Regions from separate parts of the Homo sapiens genome. Here region 2 is linked to region 1. The links are contacts of gene promoters, found by promoter capture Hi-C in human tissues and cell types (Jung and others, 2019). All regions are on one chromosome and are shown on one strand. The core of a region is centred on a gene start or on the middle of the fragment in contact, and the rest is flanking DNA. Distances in the headings are between cores, read along the strand shown.

Region 1 (5,904 bases), core at 1,522-4,021:
GCAGAGTTAGATGGCTAAACCGGACGCCGACCCGCGCCCCTTGTCACCCTGTACACACACTCGAACCCTCAAACACCCACCTCCTCTTCCCCCAAAACATCCAGTGGGCGCTCTTCACGCCCCTTCAGGCGACATAGACCCAGCTGACAACGGGACACACATGTCCCCTCATGTCCTCGTCCTCTCCGCCAAGGACGGGTGCGTCCTCAGAACTCGCTGAAGAGGTGTGAAAGTTTTGTTTGGGTTTTGCGCGCGAGATGAAACTCTATAAGCATTTACTCCTACCTGACACGCACTGCGTGGGGAGGAAGAAAAGTGGCGGTGGATGAAGTGAACCCACCTTCGCGGAGTAGAACCCACAGTTATATTCCGGCACCCCTCGAATCTCACGTCTCAGCTAGCAGGGCAGGTGGGAATGGATGGAAAACATGCTCGGCGTCTCGCCGCAGCAGCCACCCTCCAGGAACCCCTCAAGCTCTGGCCAACTGCGAGTGCCCGGCCTTGGGAAGCCACATCCCCCCACCACCAAAAAGCATGTGGAGAAGGGTCCGAGGGCGGGGCTCAGAACTGTCGCGGGTGGTCGCTGTGAAAAAGGGAAGAGGGGTGTTTTCTTAAAGACCTGTCCTAACAAAGTTTCGCTGTTCCGCAGAAATCCTCACACTCATTCCAGAAATCCTAAAGGCCAGGGCTGCTGGCTCAGTGCGCCGGCCGGCGATGGGAGGCTGGAGCGCCTGGGGCGCCAGGCGGCCACTGACAGCCGGACCTGCCCAACACAAGCGCGCACAGGCACACACACACACATAGAAGAACACACACGAGCGCCCCGCGCACACACTTTCACTTCCAGCCCAGTTACCCAATTCACTCTCACTACCACCCACCCCCATCCTAATACTCAGTGGGGATGGGAACAGTGTTGGGGACACTTGTCCCCAGCCCAGGGAAGCTGGAGATGATGTAATTAGTCATCTTCCTTCTTCCCCTTCCGCACTCTGAGTCCGATAGGGCCTGGGGCCACCAGATCTCCCACTGTCCCAAGCTCAGCTGGTGGCTTAATGGGGGGAAAAAGGCCATTTCTCACTTGGGACCAGGAGCCTGGGAAAGAGCCTTGGGTGTGCCCAGGAAAGTTCCCTCAGGTCAACCTCCAAGGGCAATGCCTCCAGGCCACACAGTCTAGTGTCTAGGGAGCTGCGAGTGAGAGAAGGGCTGGAAGGGGCCATGGTGACAGGGGCTGGAGAAGACTTTTGGGAGATATCAGAATTAAAGTTGGGAGTTGCTATTCTACCGGTAGACTAAGAAAAAACTGAAAGACAGAGAGGGAGGGAAGGAGAACGAGATAGCAGAAATAAGAGAAGACTCAGGGGAGAAATGGGACGAAAAAACAGGAAAGCCAGAGAGGTAAGGAAAGGAGAAAGAGGAGAAAGGAGGGAAGCTGAAGAAAGAAGAGAAAGAAAATGGAGAGAGGAAGGGAGGAAGGAAAAGAGTGAGGGAGAAATTAAGGGAAGGTGGGGGAAAGAAATGAGAGAAGGAAATGAAAGAAAGAAGAAAGAAAAGAAGGCAGGAAGAGAGACAGGAAAGAACGAAGAACGAAAGAAATGGAAGGAGGGAAGAGGGGAAGAAAGGAAGAGGAAGGAGAAGAGAAGAAAATAAAGGGGGGAGAAAGGAAAGAAGGAAGAAAGAAAAAAGAAAGGCAGGAAGAGGAAAGAGAAAGAAAAAGGAAAAAGAAAAGGAGGAAAGAAAAAAAGAAAGAAAAAGAAAAAAGAAAGAAAAAGGAAGGAAGGAAGAGAAAGAAAGAAAGAAAAAAGAAAAGAGGGAAAGGAAGAGCGAAGGGAAAGAAGAAAAGAGAGCCGGCCGGAAAAGAAAGAGCAATCACATAAAAACATAAAACACAGATCTCCAACATGCTGTGTTGAGACGCCTCTTCTGGGTTAAAACAAAATGAAAACAGTCACAGACGAGGCAGGGGAAAGTGCTGGCAAAGCGTGGGCTCCTCGCAGACAGCTCCAGGTCCTCCGGCCGCAGGCGACGAAGGCAGAGCGGCTGGAGAGCGCGGAGCCCCGGCGGAGAGCGGAGCGCAGCGGCTGCGGACTCACCCCGCCGCCCGGCCCCGCGGCAGCAGCTGCCGCTGCCGCTGCCGCCTCCGCCTCCCGGCTCTCCCGCTCGCGGCTCACCTCGGCCGCGGTCCCCGCGCAGTACCCACCTCTGCGCCGCCGTGTTGGCGTCCAGCACCCCGGCGCCCTGCATCCACGTCCGCACCGCGTTCATGCCGCTGCCCAGCGGCTCTTCCTTCATGCTGCTTCCACTCCGTTGGATGCTTTCCTGAATCCCAAACATGAAAACAACCTTTTCTTGTGGAAAATCTCCTCCCCCTTGAAAAAAATTAAAAAAAAAAAAAAAGGAAAGAAAAGAAAGAAAAGAAAAGAAACAAAAACGCCAACCAGAGATTTTTTTTTTTCTCAGACGATGAACTCGCACTTAGAAGATCAAGGCGGGCTGGAAAGCAAATTTTTAAAAAATGTAAACCTCTGCTCAAAACTGAGCGATAACCCGAAAAAAAGAAGAAAGGGAAAATCCAACGAAAAGACCAAAATAATAAAATTAGAGATGTATGCTTGGCTGTTGGGGGTTGTTTGGTTGGTTGATTTTTGGTTTGGGTGCTTTTTTTTTTTTTTTGCTTTTTTTTTTTTTTTTTTGTAATGATCACAGGCCGGTGGAGGACAGGAGGGGCTGGAGTTTCCTTTTGTAGAGGTACCCTTCACTTGAAGAAGCAGGAAGAAAAAAAAAAAAAAAAAAAAAAAAAAAAAAAAAAAACCCTGATGGCAATTTAAGAAACAATAGACTCAACTCGCGCTGCCGGCTTTGCTACTTCAAGTGTCATTTTCCACAACCAGGCAAGTTTTTTCCTCTCTCTCTCTTTTTTTTTCCTCCTTCTCTCCCAACCAAAGATGTTTCTTTCCTTTGCGTGTAGATGAGGAGGACGCTGGTTGCCGTAGACAGATACACCAGAGAGGGTGGGGGGAAGGGGAGAGAGGGAGAGAGGAAAGGGGGGGAGGGAAAGAGAGATAGAGAGGAGAGGGAGAAAGAGAGAGGGGTGGACCCTGCTGGATGGAGATTCTGTTTTCTCCTTGCTAAAATAGAAGTGATTTGCAGGCTTTCCCTATGGAATCCAGTTTGACTTTCCCCAGAGCTAAACACAGGCACACTAACCCCAAAGGGAGGAGGCGGGGCCCGCGCATCGAGGCCCCGCCCCTTCATTTGCATAACGTCATCTTTCCGCCCACCGCAGCCAATCGCGGCCCGGGAGCCGGCTCGCTGGCGGCGCCAGGCCACGCTCTCTCATTAACATCCCGCTCCCGGTGGCGCAGGGGAGCCGGCCAAAGTTCCTCGCAAAGTGGCGAGCGAAGGAGCGCTGAGCACTGACGTCTGGGCTGGGGAGGAGCGGGTCCGAGCGAGGACGGAGAGGGGACAGAGGGAAAGGGAGGCGGGTGTCTTCCTCAGGAATTTGAGCTGGGGATCTGCATCCTGGCCATTGCAGTCCTTTAGCATCCTCGCCGCGCCCTGAGCGCGCTGGAGGCTCGCAGGCTGCGCCCTCCCAGGGCTGATGCCGCGTCCTGCTCCGCCGTTCTGGGACGTCGGGGACAAAAGTGGAGGAGACGGGAGAGCCCGGGCAGAAAAAGCAGGACGCGCGTCCCAGGTGCCCACCTCTTCGCTTTGAGGCGGGGGCGGTGGGATGGAATATGGGTGCGCGAGGTCGGGGCTGGTAACTCTCGGAGGGGCACGGCCTCCACGCTGGGAGGGATGAATGGACGCTGGGCCCCGGCAAATGAGGCGCTGTGGGTCCCCAGGAAGTGGGGTACCAGGCTCTACTCCCACCCCGGCCTCTGAAACGCTTCTCTCTCGGCCGCTAGCCTAGAGGCTGCCAGGGTTGGGCACTGTTCTCACTCACACGCTCACCTCTCTCGGGCAGTCCTCGAGATATGTGAATGGTGGAATGAATGCTCTCACTGGGGCTGTGTCAGGATGCGTTTTTAAATTTTCTCAAATTAAATGCCAACCCCTCATTCCCCACCCCAAGTAGTTGGTTCGTTTGTTTTTAGAGTAACTACCAAAGCAACAGCAATGTTAACCGTCCTTGATTAGCTGGTTATTTGGTGTAGGGTTTTTCTCATCCTCCTTTATTCTTCCTGTTAAAAAGGAGGGCTTGAACAAATCCTTCCTAACTCTGTCTCTGCCATATGAAAAGGGTGGGGGGAGAAGAGAAGGAAGGTGGGGAGAAAGGACAAAAAAGGAAGAAGGGGAAGAGAAAATGGGAAGGAAGGAGGGAGAGAGAAAGGAGAGAAGGAGAAGGAACGAATGGAAATGGGAGAGATGGAAGGAAAAAGGGAAAGAAAAAAGGACGAAATTGTCTCCCTCCTCAGGCTTTTCAGCATGTATCTTTGTGGCTGGCAAAGGAAATAGCTAGAAGTTTCTGGGTAATGTACCCCATCATTTTTTAGCAGGTTGTAACCTCTAATAAGCACATGGTGAACTTCTGTTTCATTGCCCTCAAAGGAACTCCCTGACTGCAGCCAAATCTGCTAAGGACTCCTTCGGGGAAATTATCTGCCAGAAATCCAGGTCCCCTTTCTGCTGGCCTTCCTTGGTCCTTTGATTTAGGAAGCTCATGGGGTCAGTGATGGAAAAGTACACATGCCCATGTTGAATAGAGACAGGCAAGAGTTATGCTTTGTGCTCTTGGCAGAGCAGTGGAGCCACTTCCTGATTCCTAAACTGGATGAAAGAGTGTGGTCCTGGCCTGCAGTGCATGGCCACTGTCCTCAAACACTGCTTTATCTCCTGTGCACGAGGCCTGCCCAGCTCTCACACATGTAATCTAGACTTCTTGTGTGCTGAGCACTTTCCCCTGGTACCATAATTAATGCCATCTCTTCCAGGACTTCCCTGAAGGGATTGGTCTGATCTTTTGGGATCCCCATAGCATTCACAGGGGTTCCTAACATAGCGTTCATGTCGAAGAAGAGTATAATGGTGGAGAGACTTGAAGGGCTGTAGGTTTTTGGGGATAGGTATGTGAACATTTTCAGTCTCTATAGTATTTAAATGCACAATTGAAACTTGGCCTGCTAAAAACTTTCTAAAGCTCCAAACTTAACCTTATGCTCCAGGTCCAAAGGGGTCCCCAGAGTCAATCCCTCCCCCTGCCTGGGCCATATTCTCCAGCTCAGAGAGGATCCTTGAAGGTAAGGAGATGAGGAAGCAAAGCCCACCCATCCTATCAATGGGTCCCATATAGCCCTGGCAAAAGGCCTAGGCCTCCTTCTCTTTATCTGCCTGAACCTCCATTTTACTCTCCAGTAAACAGTCCTCAACTGCAGGACTCCCAGCTGAGTCTGGTGGGGTGTCTCCAGTGGTGAGGGACACAAAATAAGGGAGCAGATCACTGCCAAAGGAAGGTGACAAAAGTGCCAGGGAAAAGAAAAGCATAGACACCCTCAAGTCCAGGATCAGCAAGAGACACACAGCAGATAGATTTCTGGGGTTGAACAGAGTCTAGAAGCATCTGCAAAGGATGCGTTTGTTGAGAGCCTGAAGCTGACTCACCCAAATGAGAAAGTGGCACAAAGCAAGAAGTCCTGAGCAGCTCAATTTCTACCCCAGAGCCAGTCTCTCCAGGAACTAAATATGAGGGAGGCAATTTCCATACCTGCCAGGCTAGAGAAGGAAGAAAAATAAAAGGGGGCAGAAATATTTTGATAAGACTAATTTCCTTTGGCTGTGCAGAGGCAGCACATACCTCACCTGGGGTGGTGAGTGTGCTTTATTTTAATCAAGCCGAGTGTATTCATAGCTTTTCTTCTTGGTGTCCTTGTGCTTTCAGTCTGGCTTTCTCATCCTGTAATAAAT
Region 2 (5,904 bases), core at 1,350-3,849, 820 kb before region 1:
GTTTGAACTGGGGAACTTGAAGAGCTCAAGACAGGTAGAAGCAGGGACAGAAAAATGTCCCATGTTAGAATCATGGCCAGGCAGAGGTACATGTGAGTAGAATTTCAGATGGAGCAGAACGTACAAGTAAACAGAAGCATCAGTTGACAGATAAGGAGAATGGTCCAGAAATGCAGACAGAAGCTAAAATAATATGAGAAAGAGACCATGAGATCTGCGTGAAAGGAAAGCTGTGGAAAGTATTCAGCCCCTGGATATGACTCTATTCTTGATAGCTTCCCACTTCTACTCAATACATATCTTTACAATAAACTCCCCCCCTTTCATGAGCTTATTTGAGCCAGCCTTTCCTTTGATATCAAAAAAGCCTGACCCTATCACTCTCCTGATCCTCACAGGCTGTATGATTATTTTTACCTGGGAAACCCCTTGGCTTCTTATAAAGGTGTGACTTCTAGTGACTGACCCTGGCATGCTAGATTCCTCCAAAGGGATGGGCCAACCAGGTTCCAACTCTAGGTATGTTTGAAAACATACAAAACAATAGTTTAGTTCGAGTGAACAATGTCACTTTTTACTTGTGGACAATACAAAGCGTCCTATGAAATTGCTGCAGCCACAGTCACAGTTCTGATCCCTTTTTACCGCTTTTCTACCCATTGACCTGCACAGCCTAGCCTTGTGACTTATTTTAGCCAATGAAATAAAGCAGAAGTAGTAGAGTGCTAGCCTGAGACTACGACTTAAAAGGCATTGCAAGCTTCCATATGTTCCTCTTGGGCTTCTGCCATCAGTAGGAGAAGAACATGCCTCATGGCACTCACTGGTCCCAAGAGAATGAGAGATACGTGGAGCTGAGCAGCTACGGCCAATGCCTGCAGCCTGAGCAAAGCCATTGTAGCTGACCTGGGAGCAGGTTAATACATGCTTGTTACCGCATGCACCTGAGATTCTGTGATTGGTATGTAATCATAGCTGATTAATAATATCTATCTTCTGCAGCTTTCTCTTTCCTTTGACTTTATACTTCCTCTTGATTTTGCCTTCCTTTCTGGCCACTCCTTCTCAGTCTTCTTCATGAGCCCCTCTTCTGTTACCCTTCAAATGTTGGTATTGCTCAAGCTTCTGGTCAAGGCCTCTATTTTTTCAATATACATTTGATACATTGATGAACTGCATAGGTGAGTTCAGTATCTTTTACAACCCGATGACTCTCAAATTTGTATCTTTGGTCCAGACTTCTCTTCTTTACATTAGATTCATATGTATTTATACAGATGCCTCTTGGTCACCTCCTTCTAAATGCTTTGCAGGCTTCTTGAAGTCAGTGTATCAAGGGAAGTAATCATCACTTTCTCCATACCTCTACTTGTTCCTCCTTCTGTAACCTTTCTCAAGTGACTAGCACTATAATTTGCTTAGTTGTCCAAACCAGAAGCCAAATTTCACCTTGATTTTTTTTCTCTCTCAAAGTTTTTCAGTTTACTGTGTACTCAGTCACGAACTGCACAGATTTCTGCTTCCTAAATGTCTCTCCTAACTGACCATGATTCTCCATCCCTAGTATTCATGGTTGTAGATCAGGCCTCCATCCTCTCTGACCTGGCTCACAGGAATCATTCCCTAAGTGGTCTCAGTGCTGCTAGTGTGGACCCCTCACCGTCTATCCTCATCCTCTGGAGGTCCATTTCTGATGTTGCTGATATGAACTTTCTGGTGAGGTATATATGAGCATGACAAATGTCTCCAATAGCTTCTTTCTATACCTTTCAGGATAAAGCCCAAACTTTTTAGCAAGGCATATAAATCACTTTCTAACTTGGCCTCCTCTGCTTTTTGCTGTAATAATGAAGACCCAGTTTCTGTCCTCAACGCTGAAGGGAATAATGCTTACACGGAAAAGTACTTTCACTATAAGCAGTAAGAAAAGGGTGCTATCACCTAAAAGGGGCCATCTAATTCATGGACGGTAGAGGGAGAGGGAGAAGGTTTCCTTGATCCCCCAGTGTGAACCAAGGCCTGAAGGTAGAGAACACATCAGCCACAGCAAGGGGCGAATGAGCTGTGGGGAGGGAGAAAGAGTGGCCCATGCAGAAGGAACTGTGTGGGCCAAGGTCTGTGCTTGAAGAACTAAAATAATCAGTCTGGTAGAGGATTAAGTATGGTGGTGCTAATTGGGACTTGTGGGTCTTTCTTCTGAGCTGTATTAAGGAGCTTGGAGGCTCTTAAAGCAGCAATTGACAAGCAAGATTAAATTGTTGATCAAGCAAAATCACCTGTATAATTACTAGAAGAATTTCTATTTGGGGGATTCTTGGGACAAACTTGATTACGTCTCAGCTTTGTAGTTTTTTTCCGGATTGTGCAGTTGAGGTTACTTTAAAACGAATTTTTATTGACTCTCTGAACACAAAGGTGAAAGAAATCCCCAGAGGTCATTGAGATTTTTACCCCTGGCTTCAGGCAGAACCACACATAAATCTTTCCAGACAGATGGGTGTTTGTTGGCAAAGGTATTCAGCCGCAAAGAAGTAATAGCTGCTTTTGTTGACAGATTTAGAGATGTTTTGCCAAACACTATCTTAAAATACTATGATTAGATGTAATTTTGCAAAAATGAGTCTATAATGGAGGTGATTCGCTTGCCGTATCAGCTTAGGAGTATCTTCTATTTACAGTTTATTAAATTTACATTTGATTAATTTACACTGAGTGCAAGCAGTTACTCCGTAATTATCTCTTTGCCTGCATCAGAATACATGCAACATTATGTTTGGAAAATTGTGAAGTCAGAAGATGTTAACATTGGAAATACCCATTAGTGATCTCTTTTACCTCCTTACCATCCAAACAAATGCTTTATGCATTTAGATTCATGAGGGGTTCTTCAACTCTGTATTTCCCACACATTCTAACACAAAATTTTATTTATCTTCCATTTCATAATTTAATAGCTAATCTGTCACAAGCAACAATTTTTGTTTGTTTGCTTAGTTCTGCTGAACCCACCGTCATTAGACAAAACCATTATTTGAAAAATCTCTTTCAGGAAATCATATACATGGATATCCTATGAAGTTCTCATAAACAAGAGCTGTGTTTTCTTTAGTTGTTTATTCTTAAACTTTTCAAATATTTATTGCACACTTGAGACATTGTGGTGGATGGCATTTCAATATACATTTAACCCCAAATAATGTAAGTGACGGGTCAGCAAACGATAGCCTTTTGGCCAAATCCAGCATGCTGCCTGTTTTTGTATGGCCTTTGAGCTAAGAATGATTTATGAAATGGCTGAAAACATTTAAAAGAAGAATACTGACATGTGACTGTTATATGAAATTCAAATTTCAGTGTCCATAAATAGTTTTATTGGAACATAACTATACTCATTCATTTACATATTGTCTGTGGCTGCTTTTGTAACACAAGGGCATGTTGAGTAGTTGCGGCAGGCACCGTATGGTCTGCCAAGCCTAAAATGTTTACTATCTTGCTCTTTCCAGAAAATGTTTGCTGATCCCTAGCCTAAGGTAATCATGGTAATCTCATTTCCTTTGTGAATGATTGGTTTGGGAATGAACATAAAAACCTAATCCTGGGAAAATGAATATCAGAGGTCTGAGGGGGCTTCTTGGAAAGGTTTCTTAGCTGCTCTTAAGGAGGCACAGGAAAAGATGGTTCCTTTCTTTCTTTGCTGTTGTTGCCCCTGGATAAGGAGCCTGAAGATGTGTGTGGCTGCCTTGTGGCTATGACGGCTGTGGCTGTAAAGGCTCTGTACTGAAGGCATGGCCACCTCACTGAGTATGACAGCAGGGAGATGGGAAGAGCCAGATTTCTCATGCGGATATGAAGACATTAACTGAGCCCTGGATCCTACTCTGCCTTTGAACTTCATGTTGTATGAGGTAACATGCTTGCTTCATGTTTAAGTCATTTTGAGGTAGGGGTGGAGGTAAATTTCTGTTCCTTGGTGCCAAAGCTTCCTACATGGACATCAACAATACACTAGCCACTGTGTCAGGTGTTGGGAATACAGTAATGCCAAAAATAATATAAAGTAAAATGTTCCTGTTCTTCACTAGCTTAGTGTAGTAGGGAGACTTTCTAGAAAAATAGGATAGGGAACGTTTAAGGCTGTCTTGAGGAATCAGGGTAAAGCTCACAGAAGTACTAATGCTTGATCTGAGATTTGAACGGTGATTTGGACCTCAGCAGGCCATTTTATAGGACACCAACAATCCAGGAAAAAGAAGAATATAGAAAAAGAAGCAGGACAGATGAAACAGTATGGTGTTTGTTTGGGGATAAGTAGAAGCAGTTCAGTATGGCTGAGATGCTGAGGATGGAAGAAGGGGCTCGAGTTTCCTTAGCATAGAACTTGGATGCGCTGTTGTAACAACGACTACTATCATTGCTGCTAGTACAGAAGCAATTCTTACAACTATTTTAAAACTGTGACAGGTACACCTCATTTTATTGCACTTCACTTAATTTTGCTTCACAGATAATGCATTTTTTACAAACTGAAGCTTTCTGGCAACCCTGTGCTGAGCGAGTCTGTTGGCACCATTTTTCCAACAGCGTGTGCTCACTTTGCATCTCTGTGTCACATTTTGGTAATTCTCACAATATTTCAAACCTTTTCATGACTATTCTATCTGTTATAGTGGTCTGTGGTCAGTGATCTTTGATGTCACTATTGTAATTGTTTTGGGGTGCCACAAACCATGCCCATAGAAGATGAAGAATTGAACTGATAACTGTTGTGTGTGTTCTGACTGCTCTACTCACTGGTTGTTCCCCATCTCTCTCCATCTCCTCAGGTTTCCCTATTCCCAGAGACACAACAATATTCAAATTAGGCCAGTTGATAACCCTACAATGGCCTCTAAGTGTTTGAGTGAAAGGAAGTGTGGCACATCTCTCACTGTAAATCAAAAGCTAAAAATTATAAAGCTTAGTCAGGAAGGCATGTTAAAAGCGGAGAGAGGCTGACAGTAAGGCCTCTCCAAACAGTTAGCCAAACTGTGAATGCAAAAGAAAAGTTCTTGAAGGGAATTAAAAGGGCTACTCCTGGAAACACATAAATGATAAGAAAGTGAAACGGTCTTATTGCTTATATGGCAAAAGTTCTACTGGTCTGGATAGAAGATCAATCCAACCACAACCTTCCCTTAAGCCAAAGCCTAATCCAGAGCAAAGCCCTAACTCTCTTCAGTTCTATGAAGGCTGAGAGATGTGAGGAAGCTGCAGAAGAAAATTTGGAAGCCAGCAGAGGTTGATTCATGGGATTTAAGGAAAGAAGCCTTCTCAGTAACATAAAAGTGCAAGATGAAGCAGCAAGTGCTGATGGAGAAGCTGCAACAATTTATCCAGAAGATCTACCTAAGATCATTGATGAAGGCGGCTATACTAAACAACAGATTTTCAATGTAGATTAAACAGCCTTCTGTTGGAAGAAGATGCCATCTAGGACTTTCATATCTAGAGAGAAGTCAATACCTGGTTGCTTTTCTTTTTTCTCCTTTTGAGACAGAGTTTCACTCTTGTTGCCCAAGTTGGAGTACAGTGGCACAATCTCGGGTCACTGCAACCTCTACCTCCGAGGTTCAAGCTATTCCTCCACCTCAGCCTCCCGAGTAGCTGGGATTACAGGCACCCACCACCACACCCAGCTAATTTTTTGTATTTTTAGTAGAGACGGGATTTCATTATGTTGGCCAGGCTGGTCTCAAACTCCTGACCTCAGGTGATCTGCCTGCCTCGGCCTCCCAAAGTGCAGGGATTACAGGCGTGAGCCACTGCTCCAGGCCCGAGAAGTCAATACCTGGTTTCAGTGCTTCAGAGGAATGGCTGACTCTCTTGGTTAGGGGCTAATGCAACTCATAATTTTAAGTTGAA

Evidence for each region. Contacts are between HindIII fragments. The study calls those that stand out against the background at their distance.
Region 2: a fragment that was not itself captured here is called in contact with the fragment with the promoter of EBF1 in region 1 in 1 of the 25 tissues and cell types used here (spleen).

What each region holds. Positions count from the first base shown.
Region 1 is chr5:159,097,145-159,103,048 of GRCh38, forward strand. EBF1 (EBF transcription factor 1) reads right to left here and starts at 2,772. Exons shown (of 16, transcript NM_024007.5): 1 at 2,201-2,772. The coding sequence starts at 2,334. LINC02202 (long intergenic non-protein coding RNA 2202) reads left to right here and starts at 3,339. Exons shown (of 3, transcript NR_109890.1): 1 at 3,339-3,694. RefSeq lists enhancers at 409-1,302, 3,052-3,680, 3,681-4,307 and a silencer at 1,945-2,234. The HindIII fragment of the contact is 15,907 bases long and covers 1-5,904 here.
Region 2 is chr5:158,274,940-158,280,843 of GRCh38, forward strand. No RefSeq gene overlaps it. Among named protein-coding and RNA genes, the nearest start is that of LINC02227, 130 kb to the right of the region's middle. The HindIII fragment of the contact is 3,316 bases long and covers 942-4,257 here.